3 separate regions of the Homo sapiens genome follow, and all the other regions are linked to region 1. The links are contacts of gene promoters, found by promoter capture Hi-C in human tissues and cell types (Jung and others, 2019). All regions are on one chromosome and are shown on one strand. Each heading gives the region's core, a stretch centred on a gene start or on the middle of the fragment in contact. The rest is flanking DNA. Distances are from core to core; before and after follow the strand shown.

What was found. The method cuts DNA at HindIII sites, captures the fragments that hold promoters and counts their contacts. A contact is called where the count stands out against the background at its distance.
Region 2: a fragment that was not itself captured here is called in contact with the fragment with the promoter of RAB3B in region 1 in 5 of the 25 tissues and cell types used here (IMR-90 fibroblasts, lymphoblastoid cells, mesendoderm cells and 2 more).
Region 3: a fragment that was not itself captured here is called in contact with the fragment with the promoter of RAB3B in region 1 in 2 of the 25 tissues and cell types used here (ovary and thymus).

Annotation. Positions count from the first base shown.
Region 1 is chr1:51,989,101-51,992,144 of GRCh38, reverse strand. It overlaps RAB3B (RAB3B, member RAS oncogene family), which reads left to right and starts at 1,445. Exons shown (of 5, transcript NM_002867.4): 1 at 1,445-1,593. RefSeq lists a silencer at 1,422-1,531. The HindIII fragment of the contact is 14,307 bases long and covers 1-2,873 here.
Region 2 is chr1:51,872,000-51,875,043 of GRCh38, reverse strand. All of the region lies in intron 1 of NRDC (nardilysin convertase), which reads left to right. Among named protein-coding and RNA genes, the nearest start is that of NRDC, 5.2 kb to the left of the region's middle. The HindIII fragment of the contact is 5,458 bases long and covers 1-3,044 here.
Region 3 is chr1:52,060,348-52,063,391 of GRCh38, reverse strand. The region is part of intron 2 of BTF3L4 (basic transcription factor 3 like 4); the gene reads right to left. Among named protein-coding and RNA genes, the nearest start is that of BTF3L4, 5.6 kb to the right of the region's middle. The HindIII fragment of the contact is 4,475 bases long and covers 1-3,044 here.

The DNA of each region.
Region 1 (3,044 bases), core at 196-2,695:
CTTGGGGGGAAAATGGTTTTGGTATTTGACTCAGACCTCTAAGATCTGAGATGGGGGAGAAGTGTGGGGAAAGACAATGATTCTAGAGCAAGCCTTCAGCTGGCTCCTGTGACCTCAGGAAGACTGGAAGTCCATATCAGGATTTGAGGGTGGGGTATTTATTGCCTCCTCTATCTGCCTCCTCTAGTGGAAGTGGGACTTCCTAGGGCCAGGCCAGGCAAGAACATTTTTCTACTCCTGTTGACAGCCTCCTGGTAATGGGAAACCATTGAGAGGTTTTTGTTTGTTTGTTTGTTTGGTTTTTGATGGAGTCTGGCTTTGTTGCCCAGGCTGGAGTGCACTGCTGGAGTGCAGTGATCTCGGCTCACTGCAACCTCTGCCTCCTGGGTGCAAGCAATTCTGCCTCAGCCTCCCAAGTAGCTGGGACTACAGGCATGCACCACCATGCCCGGCTAATTTTTGTATTTTTAGTAGAGACAGGGTTTCACCATGTTGGCCAGGTTGGTCTCGAACTCCTGACCTCAAGTGATCTGCCCACTTTGGCCTTCCAAAGTGCTGGGATTACAGGCGTCAGCCACTGTGCCTGGCCGAGAGTTTTCTTAAACAAGGTTGATGGTAACATGGTGACATTTTTTAAAGGGTTGCTCGGGCTTGTGTCAAAATGATTTTGGTATCTGACTCAGAATGAATGGGACCAGGAAGTCTCACAGCTACCGAAGTCACCAGGAGTATGGCAGAACAGGGGCTAGTTAGGATGACCATGGGCCAGGGGCTGCAATCTTTAATGCATAAGGAACAATTGGGTGTCAGTGATGAGGAGGGGTGGAGGGTGGTATGACTGGAGACCACAGGAGAAAGAATTTTTGTACAAGGGTGGAAATGGCCATGCTGACACCACGTCCTGGTTTTATAGGGTGAATTGGAGAGTGAAGGCAGGAATTAGGAAGCTGTTGCATTAGTCCAAGCAAGAAGTGATGATGCTGGAGTCAGAACAAGGGCAATGGAGACACAGAGGAAGGGCAGGGATATGTTAAGGCGGTGGGATGTGGGGTGTGAAGGAAACACAGATAGGGTAGAGGACAGCGTCCAGGTTTCTGGCTTGGTTTCCGCTTGTAGTCAGCCTCCCTCTCTGGGCTTTTGTGAAGACGGAGCCATAGAACGGACCGGACCAGAAAGCAGTTTGGAAATGGCAAAACTGCTACCCATCATCAGCTACATTATCATCAAAGCTCTCTAATTACCCTAGTAAGTTCAGTCAATGGAACGAGGCATGACAATTAAGATAAATCACGAGAGTCACCCAGACATGGGGGACCTGGAGGTCCTGAGTCACCTCGGATTACACCTGCTAGGAGTTGAGGGCCGGGGCGGGGCGAACACAGACTCCGCCCTTGGGCGGGGCCTGGATGCGGCCGGAGCGGAGCAGTGCTGGAGCGGGAGCCTCAGCCCTCAGGCGCCACTGTGAGGACCTGACCGGACCAGACCATCCCGCAGCGCCCCGCCCCGGCCCCCTCCGCGCCCTCCCGACGCCAGGTCCTGCCGTCCCGCCGACCGTCCGGGAGCGAACCCGTCGTCCCGCACTCGGAGTCCGCGGTAAGGGGCGCGGCCCCGGCAGCCCGCCCGCGGAGGATCAGGGACCGATCCCCGGCGCGGGGCGCTGGGCACCGAGAGCGGGCGCCGAGAAGGAGCGCGGGGCAGCGGAAGGAAGCCGGGGGAGGAGCGAGGGAGGGGGCTCCGCGGCGGCAGAGGTGGGGCTCACCTAGGGAGGGGGCGCCGAGGGGGTCTCCCAGACGTTGGGGGCAGCCGGGGGAGCTCCAAGGGCGGGAGGGGAGCAAGAAAGACGGCGCTGGGGCTGGGAGGAGAGATGGGGGGCAACTGGAGGGCAGTGAGGGATCGCTGGGGGAAACGGGGGCGTGGGGGGCGGGGGAGCTGCGAGGAGGGCGGAGTGGGGCTGTGCGGAAAGGTGGTACCGGGCAGCCGAGGGGCAGCGAAGGGGGCGGTGAAGGGAGCGGACTGAGGGGAGCTAGAGCGGGGGTGCGGGGGGAGGCATGGAGGTGAGGAGCTGAGGGGAGGGGACTGGCTGGGCGGGGGTCGTTTGGAGCTGGAGGGGACTGAGGTGCCGAGGGCAAGGGGCGCTGGGCAGCTGGGGAGTGTCTGGTTGGGAGAGGGTCGGGGGTGGGGATGTGGGTATGGATAGCTGGGAAGGAGAAAGGCAGCAGGGCAGTGTCTGGTCGAAAGAGGGTCATTTATGGGGGATGTGGGTATGGATAGCTGGGGTCGGAGGTTGAGCCCGGCTGGGGACCGGCGTGGGGGTAACTGTAGATGGAAGACGAGGGGTGGGGCTTGGGGGCGGGAAGCTTGGGAGAATGGAAGGGTGAGAGGCCAGGTTGGGTCTACCCTGCTGCAGAGGAAGGGGGCAGGGAGCCGGTGGAGACACAGGGAAGTGGCCTTGGAAATGGACACAGGGGCCTACATTCTGGTCAGGAGTGGAGAGGAGGCTCTGGAATAGAGTAGGGTCTGGCGGCTGCAAGTGGAGGAATCGTGGGAGAACTTGGAGTGTATAGATAGGGTGGTGGGGCGCTGGGTCAGCCTGGGGAGGAGGCCAGGTGTGGGTCGTGGTGTAAGGGTGGAAAGGTAATGGGGGCTGGAGTGGTGTCCACGCACTAGCGGTGTCTCGGCCACTCAGGAGTCCAAGGAGGGGACCCAGGCACTGGACCTTGTTACACGGGCACCGGGGATCACAGAAAATAAGAGAATCGTGGACAGAAAAAGTCATCCAACTCTGTTCTGTAGTCCAAGCATGGAAGCAACTTTGGGGAGGGCAGGGCAGCAGCCTTTGGAAGCTAAGAGAGATGTGGAGGAGGTGGGAGAAAGATGGGCCCTCAAAACACACACACACACACACACACACACACACACACACACACACACACACAAAACAAGATGGGCCCTCTTCCCCCGGCTTCCTGGAATCCAGATGGAAAGGGGTGGGAGACAGTAAAAGGAGAGGATGTGTGTGTGTGTGTGTGTGTGTGTGTGTGCGC
Region 2 (3,044 bases), core at 268-2,767, 120 kb after region 1:
AACTAATTCCTCCTTCCATTGTATTTCAGTAGGATTTTGTGCACGATCCATTACAGTACATAGCATCATATTATATATCTTTTGAATAAGTACCAGAGGAGGACCCATTTAGAGGAATATTGTGGTGAAATAATACCTTGAAAGATTTACCAGTCTGCATTTATTAATAGCCTGCGGAATTTTACTTCAGCATATGTGTAATTTGTATTCCGCTTTTTTGAAATGTTGGGCATATTTCCAGGACACCTATTATGCTTTTTTAGGGATCTGTATTAAATGCTTACCAAGTATTGATTCCCTTCCCTTCTGGAAGGGTTAAGGGACTTCAGGTTGGGAATTGATATTCAAATTTTTATTGGTGTTGAGTGGAAATTCTGGTTGGGCAGGATTAGTAGTGGTGTATTCTATTTATTTTTTATTTTTATTTTTATTTTTGAGGCAGGGTCTCACTTTGTAACCCAGGCTGGAGTGCAGTGGCGCCATCACGGCTCACTGCAGCCTCGACCTCCCAGGCTTAGGTGATCCTTCCACCTCAGGCTCTCCAGTAGCTGGGACTACAGGCACGTGCCATCATGCCCAGCTAAGCTTTTGTAGAGATGAGATTTCGCCATTTTGCCTAGGCTGGTCTCAAACTCCTGACCTCAGATGATCTGCCCTCCTTGGCCTCCCATAGTGCTGGGATTACAGGCACAGGTGAGCCACTGCACCTGGCCTGGCTGTGGTGCATTCTGAATAGTAAATTTTAACAATGAAGAACACTTAACGTTAGGTATTTTGGATTGACTAAAACAAGTACAGAGCACTTTCCATGTTTAACCTGCTCGTAAAAAGACCTGTATTTCTATGGAGAAGGAAAGAACAAATGAAAAGGTATGTAAACTTCTTTTTTTTTTTTTTTAATGATTAAAAAAAATTTTGAGACAGGATTTCAATTCATCGCCCAGGCTGGAGTACAGAGGCACCATCACAACCTGCCCCACCATGTCCGGCTAATTTTTTGTAGAAATGGAGGTGGTGGTGGGGGCAGGTGTCTCACCAAGTTGCCCAGGCTGGTCTCGAACTCCTGACCTCAAGAGATCTGCCTGCCTCTGCCTCTCAAAGTGCTGGGATTACAGGTGTGAGCTACCACGCCCTGTCGAAAAGGCATATAAACTTCTGAAGGGCAAGTCCTTCTAATTTAAATTTTGGTCAGACTGTTACAAGTGAGGAGATGGTTATCTTAATAAATTTTCAGGCTGGGCGTGGGGGCTCACGCCTGTAATCCCAGCACTTTGGGAGGCGGAGGTGGGTGGATCATCTGAGGTCAGGAGTTCAAGACCAGCCTGGCCAACATGGTGAAACCCTGTCGCTACTAAAAATAAAAAAATTAGCCAGTTGTAGTGGCAGGTGCTTGTAATCCCAACTACTTGGGAGGCAGAGGCAGGGGAATCGCTTGAACTTGGGAGGCAGAGGTTGCAGTGAGCTGAAATTGTGCTACTGCATTCCAGCCTGGGCAACAGAGCAAGACTCTGTCTCAAACATAAATAAATAAATAAATAAATAAATAAATAAATAAATAAATAAAAATTCCATATATTATAGAAAATAATGGGTGGGTGTGTGCTGAATAAGGTACAGGCTATTTCTGAATATTATGTTGTTTACTATTATATGCTGTGGAACAGGAGGAGGATCACAATTCCAGTGAGTGGAACAGTTGCATTGAGAACACTAACATTTGTTGGCTTCCTGAATAGTTTGCTAGTGAAGTGGCTCACTTCTGAGCAGAAGCCTTTTGCTCACTTTGGCAGCACGTATACTGAGCAGAAGCCTTATACAAATCTGAGGTATCAGAAGAAAACTATACACCAGAAAACAAGAGAACTTTTTTTTTTGTATTGGATGGGAAGAACATAGGTTTATTTGTTGATATTTACAATGAAAACTCCTGGAACCGTAATGCTTCATTCAATACATGAGCCAGTAATTTCATTTGTGTGTGTTTCATTTCACACACACACAGACACACAAATATTGCTAAAATGATCACAAAATCTCACAGCTACAAAAGAAATCATTATGACTTCCATGTGTGTAAATTCCATGAGATTGACAATTCCTTAGTCTGATAACAAATGAACAAGTGAATCCAAATTTCTTTTTGTTTTGCACTCTCACTTGTCTTGTAAAGTAAAGGTAACCTAGGTATTACTTCACGAGATTCAAACTCATTTAACAAAGTAAGTGCTTTTAAGATTGAAATATGTTAAATCTTATGAATACTAGTATAACTTTAATAAACATATCTTTTGTCTCTTACTATTCCTTAGACTGATTTCCTTATTTTGTTTTGTTTTGTGTTTGAGACAGTCTGGGTCTGTCACCCAGGCTGGAGTGCAGTGGTGTGATCTCAACTCACTGCAGCCTCCACCTCCCAGGTTCAAGCCATCCTCCCCACCTTGGCCTCCTAAGTAGCTGGGACTACATGTGCACACCATCATGCCCAGCTAATTTTTGTCCTTTTTTGTAGAGTTGGGTTTCGCTCTGTTGCCCAGGCTAGTCTCAAACTCCTGAGCTCAATCAGCCCACCTTGGCCTCCCAAAGTGCTGGGAGTACTGGCATGAGCCACTGCACCGGGCCTGACTGATTTCTTTAAAGTGGGCTGATGGGCTAGTAAGAATAGAAAGAGTGTATATTGTTTCTAACTGAAGTTGTGTGTGTGTGTGTATGTCTGTGTGTTTTAGGAAAATAAGATTTAGCATTAAAAAGCTCTCTGTTGGCCAGGTGCAGTAGCTCACACCTGTAATCCTAGCACTTTGGGCGGCCAAGGCAGGAAGATCACCTGCCTCTGTCTCAAAAAAACAAAACCAGAACAAAAAACTCTCTGTTTTTCTGACTGGGCGCCGTGGCTCACGCCTGTAATCCCAGCACTTTGGGAGGCTGAGGCTGGTGGATCACGTGAGGTCAGGAGTTGGAGACCTACCTGGCCAACATGGTGAAACCCTGTCTCTACTAAAATACAAAAATTAGCTGGGTGTGGTGGCGGATGCCTGTAATCCCAGATA
Region 3 (3,044 bases), core at 294-2,793, 71 kb before region 1:
CACTCATTTGTGAAGCATTCCTGACTCAGGGATAGCTCAACTGCTTGGTGCTTGTTCAACTCGAATGATCCTCAGGCACCTCAAATTCAATATGTCTTAAAGCTTATCAGTCCACCAATCTATTCTTATTTCCTAACTTTTGTAGCTGGTGGTACCACCATATACTCAAGTCTCTAAAATCATGAATCTGAGGGTTATCCTAGATTCTTCTGCATGCCCTTTACCCCCCATATCCCATCAGTCACTAAATCGTGTCAATTCCAACTCCTAAATTTGTATCCCATATAATAGAGGTCCCCAACCCCCAGGCCACTGACCAGTACCAGTCTGTGACCTGTTAGGAACACGGCAGCACAGCAGAAGGTGGGGTAGGGGGCATGAGCGAGCATTACTGCTTGGGCTCCACAGCCAGTCAGATCAGCGGCAGCATTAGATTCTCATAGGAGGGCGAACCGTTGTGAGCTGCGTATGCGAGGAAACTAGGATGCGCACTCCTCATGAGAATCTAACTAATGCCTGATGATCTAAGGTGGAACAGTTTTATCCCAAAACCATCATCCTCCCATCCGTGGAAAAACTGTCTTCCACGAAACCAGTCCCTGGTGCCAAAAAGATTGCGGACTGCTGCCTTAGACTCTAGCAATAGCGTCTCAATTGTTCGCCTATAGGCCAAACTTCCATTTTGTTCCATTTTCCACAACGCCAGCAGCTACCTTTCTAAAATGGCAGTCATTTCCTTCTTAAAATCCTTTAATAGTTGCCCACTGCCTATAGGATAAAACTCCAAGCTCCTTAGTATGGCATATAAAAGTATAATGGAATCCCAAACTACCTGGTCATTTCATTTCCTGCCATTCTCTATCCATTACGTACACTAAAGAACAGCTGTACCGGCCGAGCGCGGTGGCTCACACCTGTAATCCTAGCACTTTGGGAGGCTGAGGCGGGCAGATCATAAGGTCAGGAGTTTGAGACCAGCCTGACAAACATGGTGAAACCAAGTCTCTACTAAAAATACAAAAATTAGCCAGGCGTGGTGGCGCGTGCCTGTAATCCCAGCTACTCAGGAGGCTGAGGCAGGAGAATCGCTTGAACCCAGGAGGTGGAGGTTGCAGTGAGCCGAGATCACGCCACTGCACTCCAGCCTGGGTGACAGAGTGAGACTCCGTCTCAAAAAAAAAAAAAAAAAAAAAAGGCCGAGGCGGGCGATCACGAGGTCAGGAGATCAAGCAAGACCATCCTGGCTAACATGGTGAAACTCTGTGTCTACTGAAAAAAATACAAAAAATTAGCCGGGCATGCTGGCGGGTGCCTATAGTCCCAGATACTTGGGAGGCTGAGGCAGGAGAATGACATGAACCTGGGAGGCGGAGATTGCAGTGAGCTGAGATTGCGCCACTGCACTACAGCCTGGGCGACAGAGAGAGATTCCATCTTAAAAAAAAAAAGAGGCCGGGCACGGTGGCTCACGCCTGTAATCCCAGCACTTTGGGAGGCCGAGATGGGCAGATCACCTGAGGTCAGGAGTTCAAGATCATCCTGACCAACATGAAGAAACTCCATCTCTACTAAAAATACAAAAATTCAGCTGGGCATGGTGGCATATGCCTGTAATCCCAGCTACTCAGGAGACTGAGGCAGGAGAATTGCCTGAATCCAGGAGGCGGAGGTTGCAGTGAGCTGAGATCGTGCCATTGAACTCCAGCCTGGGCAACAAGACCAAAACTCCGTCTCAAAAAAAAAAAAAAAAAAAAAAGAATAGCTGTACCATATTAAAGCAAGCCATTCCATTAAGTACTGTGTTATCTTAGCACCATATGTGCCTTTGCAAGTATGGAAATGACAACCCTTTTTACTCTATCTCATGAACCCTCTTACCTATTTCTTTTTTTTTTTTTTTTTTTGAGACGGAGTCTTGCTCTGTTGCCCAGGCTGGAGTGCAGTGGTGCAATCTTGGCTCACCGCAACTTCCACCTCCCGGGTTCAAGTGATTCTCCTGCCTCAGCCTCCCAAGTAGCTGGGACTACACGTATGCGCCACCACACCAGGCTATTTTTGTACTTTTAGTGGAGACAGGGTTTCACCATGTTGGCTAGGCTGGTCTTGAACTCCTGACCTCAACTGATCCACCCACCTCAGCCTCCCGAAGTGCTGGGATTACAGGCGTGAGCCACCACCCATTACCTTTCTGCCAGCCATTACCTTTTCGCCTAGTGATAAATTGTTTATCCTTTAAACAAGAGCTCAGTGATAACTTCCTTGTCTCCACTAGGCAAGAGTACCTTGTACTTCATTATAACACTCACTATTCTGCGTTATAATTGTGAGCATCTCTCTCCCAAGCAGAGCTGTGATCTTGTTTATCTTCTATGTGCTGGCACACAGTAGGTGCTCAATATACAACAGCTAAATCGAATGTACCAACCACAGTTTTAAAATACACAATGGCGATGTGGTACATCAAGCTCTTCTAGGTATATTCTATGGTTCTTGAATATCCCTAGTTTCTGCATTGGCACATCACATCACACTTGATGCTACAATGTGACTACTGTGGTTACATGAGTGTGTTATTCTAACTCCAGACTCATATAACTGTATCACTGTGGGAGAAGGAGAAAGTACTGGCTCTTCTTCCCTTCCCTTCCCTTGTGCTCATCCCCAGGAACTGTGGTTATCATCAGTGTAAATGACACAGTGGGACCCACTACAAAAAGTAGTGTCCTACCTACCACTTCAGGTCTGAGGTAAGTACTATTCTTTCTTTCACTTTTGCAAAGATTGTGTTGGGCAGAGATATGGGTAGAATATTCTCCTTGAGCCTGGTGCCACAGCTGAAGAGAATCAAAGACTTCAGTTGCTCACAACTAGTTCTTCCTTAGGCTTTAAAAAGTACAGGGAATAAGAAAGCTGATATTCATATTCACCAACATGGAAGAACAGGTAAGAATTTGTGAGGAAAACCTGGCAATGAACAAAATATATAATCAACTTAAGCATCTCCAGCTAAACCTCTGTACAAGTAGGTAACATCCAGTCAAGAC